Linked DNA regions of Homo sapiens: region 2 is linked to region 1. The links are contacts of gene promoters, found by promoter capture Hi-C in human tissues and cell types (Jung and others, 2019). All regions are on one chromosome and are shown on one strand. Each heading gives the region's core, a stretch centred on a gene start or on the middle of the fragment in contact. The rest is flanking DNA. Distances are from core to core; before and after follow the strand shown.

The links. Contacts are between HindIII fragments. The study calls those that stand out against the background at their distance.
Region 2: a contact is called between the fragment with the promoter of GNA11 here and the fragment with the promoter of CELF5 in region 1, in 2 of the 25 tissues and cell types used here (pancreas and spleen).

Annotation. Positions count from the first base shown.
Region 1 is chr19:3,223,059-3,226,378 of GRCh38, forward strand. CELF5 (CUGBP Elav-like family member 5) reads left to right here and starts at 1,603. Exons shown (of 13, transcript NM_021938.4): 1 at 1,603-1,940. The coding sequence starts at 1,682. RefSeq lists a silencer at 1,424-1,543. The HindIII fragment of the contact is 19,492 bases long and covers 1-3,320 here.
Region 2 is chr19:3,092,785-3,096,104 of GRCh38, forward strand. It overlaps GNA11 (G protein subunit alpha 11), which reads left to right and starts at 1,578. Exons shown (of 7, transcript NM_002067.5): 1 at 1,578-2,003. The coding sequence starts at 1,868. RefSeq lists silencers at 1,247-1,496, 1,517-1,636, 1,957-2,086, 3,241-3,320 and enhancers at 1,383-2,370, 2,371-3,320. The HindIII fragment of the contact is 21,058 bases long and covers 1-3,320 here.

The DNA of each region.
Region 1 (3,320 bases), core at 353-2,852:
CATCTTTGGGAAGTGTTTTTTTTTTTTTTTTTTTTGAGACAAGATTTCATTCTGTCGCCTAGACCAGAGGCAGTGGTGCGATCCTGGTTCACTGCAGCTTTAATATCCCAGGGATCAACCGATGCTCCCACCGCAGCCTCCGAGTAGCTGGGACCAACGGTGCACACCAACCACTCCTGGCTGATTTTTTTTTTTTTTTTTCTCAAACAGAGTTTCACTCTTGTTGCCCAGGCTGGAGTGCAATGGCGCAATCTCGGCTCACTGCAATCTCCGCCTCCCGGGTTCAAGCGATTTTCCTGCCTCAGCCTCCTGAGTAGCTGGGATTACAGGCATGCACAACCATGCCTGGCTAATTTTTGTGTTTTTAGTAGAGACAGAGTTTTCTCCATGTTGATCAGGCTGGTCTCGAACTCCTGATCTCAGGTGATCCACCTGCCTCAGCCTCCCAAAGTGCTGGGATTACAGGTGTGAGCCATCGTGCCTGGCCTGTTTTCTTATTTTTTACAGCAATGGCGTCTCACTATGTTGCTCAGGCTGGTCTCCAACTCCTGGGCTCAAGTGGTCCTCCTGACTCTGCTTCTCAAAGTGCTGGGATTACAGGTGTGAGCCACCACGGCCAGCACGTATTATTATTTTTATTAATATTATTGATGAGTTTCATACGTAAAGGATCACGGGCACTTTAGAGCTGGGAGATACTTCAGTATTTCTCCTATCCTGTCATTATCAGTGCGAGCCAGTCTCCCTCCTTGTTGATGACATTATTGATGAGTTACATACTTAAAGGGCCAAGGACACTTTCTATGTGTAAGCACCCTATAGAACTGGAAGATACTTTTACCATTTCTCCTGTGCTGTCGTGATTAGTGGGAGCACTTTGTCTTGCTCTTGATTAATTATTATTAGTGTTGTTATTATTAGGTGTTTTTTTTTTTTTTTTTTACCAAGACGGAGTTTTGCTCTTGTTGCCCAGGCTGGAGTACAATGGCACAATCTTGGCTCACTGCAACCTCCGCCTCCTGGGTTCAAGTGATTATCCTGCCTCAGCCTCCCGAGTAGCTGGGATTACAGGCACCCCCCGCCACCGAGCCCAGCTAATTTTTGTATTCTTTAGTAGAGACGGGGTTTCACCGTGTTAGCCAGTCTGGTCTCGAACTCCTGACCTCAAGTGATCCACCCACCTCGGCCTCCCAAAGTGCTGAGATGACAGGCGTGAGCCACCGCGCCCAGCCATATTATTAGTGTTATTAATATTATTGATGAGTTACCTACTTTAAGGATCACGGGCGCTTTCAACGACAAGCCCCCTACATTATCCCAGCAACTTTTGACATTCTTCCGGCCGATGCCCTCCGCGGGAGCCGGCGGGGACCCCTGGGAAGCCGGCTAAGGCCCGTCCCGCCCGCAGCTCCGCCCTCGCCCACCCGTAGGCGGGGCCCGGGGCCTTCCGGCCTCAGTTTCCCCCCGCGGCCCGGGGATGCGGGGAGGCGCCGGCTGCCCCGCGCGGCGCGGCCGCCAGGGGCCGCTGCGGAGCCGCCTTTGTGGTCCCGATGCCGGGGCGGGCGCGGGCGGGAGGAGGGCGCGGGGGCCCGGGAGGGAGGCGGGAGGCGCGGCCGCCGCTCCAGCTGCGAGTCCGCCCGCCGCCCGCCGCCGCCGCCGCCGGCTCGGTCCCGCGCCCGCCATGGCCCGCCTGACGGAGAGCGAGGCGCGCCGGCAGCAGCAGCAGCTCCTGCAGCCGCGGCCCTCGCCCGTGGGCAGCAGCGGGCCCGAGCCCCCCGGGGGGCAGCCCGACGGCATGAAGGACCTGGACGCCATCAAACTCTTCGTGGGCCAGATCCCGCGGCACCTGGACGAGAAGGACCTCAAGCCGCTCTTCGAGCAGTTCGGCCGCATCTACGAGCTCACGGTGCTCAAAGACCCCTACACGGGGATGCACAAAGGTGGGCGCCCGGCCCCCTCCCCCCTCTCCCCCTCCCTCCGCCTCCCACCCCACCTTCCGGCATCTTCTCTCCCCCATCACCATCCCTCCTCTGCTCACCTCCCTCCTCTGCCTGCCTCTGCCGGAGCATCGGTTCTTACCCCCTCCCTCCCACCCACCCCTCCTCCCCTCTCTGGGGGTGCAGCTGACAGATCCGAGCGGGCCCCCTCCCCTCCTCCGCCCCCTCTCCCTCCCTCCCCACCTTCCGGCATCTCCTCTCTCTCTCCCTCTCTCTCTCCCTCTCTCTCTCCCTTTCTCTTCTCTCCCATCTCCCTCGACCTCTCATCCTTCCCCCCACAGCACCCTCTCTCTCCCTCCCTCCCTCCCTCACCCTTCCATCCCCCAGACCCCCACCCCTTCCTCCCTCCCTCACCCCACTCTTTCCTGCCCGTTTGCCAGGGGAGCCTCGGGAACGCCGGCACCCCTCCCTGCCCCCCCACCCCCATTCATTCAGCCTCCCCAGGCCCCGTCGGGGAAGTTTGCACCTGCGGACTCCATTGCTTTGGTTATTTTCACAAAGCCAGGCCGGCGGGGCAGGTCCGGCCGCGGGGGACACGGATGCCCAGGACCCCAGGCTAATCGGTAACTACAAAGGAAGACGGGTTGGGGGCGCCCGGCTCGGGGGGACGCGCCCGCCTCGCCTGCCTCGGGTGGCGGAGAGGCTCCCGTCGCTGCCCACCCCCTGGCCCCACCACCTCCGCGTGGATCAGCATTCTCTCCTCCATTTCTCTGCCCTCCCCCTCCCCCGCCTCCACCTTGGGCTCAAGTTGAAACTGGCCGAGCCTCTTAGCAATGTGTTGGGGTCTCAGGCCCAAGACAATGAGCTTGGACGTGTCCATCTGGGCAGAGCCCAAATTCTGGGGTGGACAGGGAGGAGGAGGGAGGCGTGGGCGGCCTCAGGCCTGTCTGCCTCCCTCCCACTGGATTCTCCCTCCGATGGCATCCCGGGTGGGGGTGTCCGGCAATTGTATCCCCAGCCCTTGGTTCCCATCATGGGCCCAGCGTCTGAATTGGGGTGGCTTTGACAGCCTTCCGGTCAGGTGTTGGGGACTGGGGGTGCCACTTCAAAGGCCTTGTGCTGGACACCCCCGGCCCTCCCCCTCCCATCCTCCAGGAAGACCCTGGAGAGGCCTTGGGGAAGGACCGGGGCCCATGACCTATTTTACACCCACTTTTTCCCCAGCGCTGCGTGCCCGGTAAGCATGAATGCATGTTTATTGAATGAATGAATTGAATGAATGAATGAATGAATGAATGAATGAATGAAGGGGTTCAAGAAGGCCCTAGGGAGGGTCTGGTGAGATGGGGCCCAGGCCTGTCACTTCAGCTAGACCCTCCAGCT
Region 2 (3,320 bases), core at 328-2,827, 130 kb before region 1:
TATGGCTGGGTGAGGTGGCTCACATCTATAATCCCAGCGCTTTGGGAGGCCGAGGAGGGCAGATCACTAGAGGCCAGGAGTTTGAGACCAGCCTGGCCAACGTGGCGAAACCCGCTCTCTACTAAAAATACAAAATTAGCCAGGCATGGTGGCGCGCCTGTAATCCCAGCTACTTGGGAGGGTGAGGCAGGAGAATCACTAGAGCCTGTGAGGCAGAGGGTGCAATGAACCTAGATCACGCCCCTGCACTCCAGCCTGGGCGACAGAGCAAGACTCCATCTCAAAAAAAGAAGAAGAAAAAAAAGATATCCCTTGGGTAGGGTTAGCTTAACGGGCTTACAGCAGTGCCTGGTATCCTGTAGGCATTTCATGAATGCGTATACCTGGCCTGGAATGGTGCAGGCACTGCAGTAAGGCCTGATTGACACCTGATGGACAGCAGGCACTCCATTAATCTCTGGTCCGTGCCTGGCATATAGAATGTGTCCCATTAATGCCTGATACACAGTAGGTGTCCCATTAACGCTTTTTAATTTTTTTTTTTGAGACAGAGTCTCGCTCTGTCGCCCAGGCTGGAGTGCAGTGGCATGATCTCAGCTCACTGCAAGTTCCGTCTCCCGGGTTCACGCCATTCTCCTGCCTCAGCCTCCCGAGTAGCTGGGACTACAGGCGCCCGCCACCACGCCCGGCTAATTTTTTGTATTTTTAGTAGAGACGGGGTTTCACCGTGTCAGCCAGGATAGTCTCGATCTCCTGACCTCGTGATCCACCCGCCTCGGCCTCCCAAAGTGCTGGGATTACAGGCGTGAGCCACCGCGCCCGGCCCTCTTTTTTTTTTTTTTTCTTTGGAGACGGAGTTTCGTTCTTGTTGCCCAGGCTGGAGTGCAATGGCGTGATCTCGGCTCACTGCAACCTCCGCCTCCTGGGTTCAAGTGATTCTCCTGCCTCAGCCTCCCGAGTAGCTGGGATTACGGGCGTGCACCACCACGCCGGGCTAATTTTGTAGTTTTAGTAGAGACGGCGTTTCTCCCTGTTGGTCAGGCTGGTCTCGAACTCCAGACCTCAGGTGATCCGCCCGCCTCGGCCTTCCAAAGTGCTGGGATTACAGGCGTGAGCCACCGCGCCCGACCTCCATTAACGCTTTTTAATGGATGAGTGAAGGTTCCTGTCAGGCAATGTCAGGGCGCTTCCCGGGGGCAGCGACTGCTGCCCAGGCACCTGGAGACCCAGAGAGCGCAGCGGCCGCGTGCGCGCCTCCGCCACCGCGCCTGGGCCGAGCCGAGCGGGACCGAGCGGGGCCGAACGGAGCCGAGCGGAGCCGAGCCTGGCCGGGCCGAGTCCGCCACATTCCCACAATCCCGGGCGGCCCCGCCCCGGCTCCCGGCTGCGCGTCCCCCTTCCCACGTCGGCGCAACCAAACCCGCGGGCCCCCCGCCCTCGCCCCGCCCCGCCCCTTTCGCGCCCGCCGACGCCCCGCCCAGGCCGCTAGTCCCGCCCCCATGGTGGGCGCGCTTGGCCGCCGGCCCCTCCCATTGGCCGCACCGTCTGCCCGTCGCGGGCTGCGCTCCCAGCCTGCTAGGTTGTCCGGCGCTGTCGCTCGGTTGCGGCGGCTGCGGTTGGCGGTGGCTGCGGCGGCGGCGCGGGCTGAGTGCGGCCGCGCGGGAGTCCGCGGCTGGCGCGGCCCGAGCGGGGACCCGGCGGCTCGCCAGGCGGCGGCCGAGGCGGGGCGGGCCGGCCCGGGGCCGAGGGCCGGTGGCCGAGGCCGGAGGGCCGCGGCGGGCGGCGGCCGAGGCGGCTCCGGCCAGGGCCGGGCCGGGGGCCGGGGGGCGGCGGCGGGCAGGCGGCCGCGTCGGCCGGGGCCGGGACGATGACTCTGGAGTCCATGATGGCGTGTTGCCTGAGCGATGAGGTGAAGGAGTCCAAGCGGATCAACGCCGAGATCGAGAAGCAGCTGCGGCGGGACAAGCGCGACGCCCGGCGCGAGCTCAAGCTGCTGCTGCTCGGTGAGTGCGGCCCCCGGGCCTGCCGGCTGCGGGCCCTGCCCTGCCTGTGCCTGCCCTGCCTGTCCGGGTCGGGCCGGGACCCTCCGGGGTCAGCCCTGCCTGTGCCGTCCGGGTCGCGAGACCCTCCGGGGTCAGCCCTGCCTGTGCCTTCCCTGCCTGTCCGGGTCGCGGGACCCTCGAGTGTCAGCCCTGCCTGTGCCTTCACTGCCTGTCCGGGTCGGGGCGGGGCCCTCCGGGATCAGCCCTGCCTGTGTCGTCTGGGTCGGCTCGGGACCCTCTGGGGTCAGCCCTGCCTTTGCTGTCTAGGTCGGCACCTGGGACCCTCCGGGGTCAGCTGCGGGCCCCTGATTTCTTTGGGGTCAGCCCCTGCCTTAACTGTTCATGTTGGCACCTGGGACTCTCCGGTGTCAGCCTGTGTCTGTCCTGTCTGGATCAGGCCCCCGATCACTCCTAGGTCAGCTCCCAGCTTCTGCTGTCTACATTGGGCCTCCAGGACTCTTCAGGATTTGCCCTCTGTTCCTTCTCAAGGGACCAGTCCCTCCCTGCACAGGGACCTTCTGACCTTACCCCACCGGAGTACCCACCCCTCGCTACCCCTTCAGGGCCAGACCTTTGGGCTGTAACCCACAGGGCACACTCACCCCTCACTGCTCAGGGCCCCGCGTTGACCCTTCCCTCCAGGCAGAGCCCTGTACACTCCATGCAGGCCCTGTACCCTCCATGCAGGCCCTGTACACCCCCCCATCCCCCCGAAGACTCCTCCGTGTCCCCTATCCCCACATTCCCTTCAGGGCCATTCTCCTGCCTTCCTGTTCCGGGAAACCCCGTACTCCTCTTGGCTGGAATGCACCCTGTGGGAAAAAGACAGTCTTTCCTCTCCTCAGGGTTCCGCTCAGCTGAGGGTGGGGCGGTTGACACCTGAGGGAGCCTTTGCTTGTTGTCCCAAGCAGCTATCTCGGCAGCCTCCCCCGCCCCCTTCCTTAGAGTCCTGGTGGGAGCCACGCTGAGTCCTCGTTGAGAGCAGCCCCCCACCTGCCGGCTCCTCCCCACCGTCCTGGAGAAGGTTTGCTGGTGAACCTCCTTCTCCCCAAGGCACACCTGCTGCAGGGAGCCAGTCGGGCCAGCTGTAAAGTGTTGTCACTCCAAATAAGGGCCCCTTCAGTGGTTTACAAAACAGAAGCTCTTGCCCTGCCCCGCCCCTGCCCTCCCGAGCTCCTAGGTTAGCTCCTGGGCCGGGGGCGGGGCGGTGGGGAAGGTCGGAAATGCGTGAGAGGCAGCGGTGACGGAGGAGGGGGCGTGCTGGTGGCGGTGGCTCTT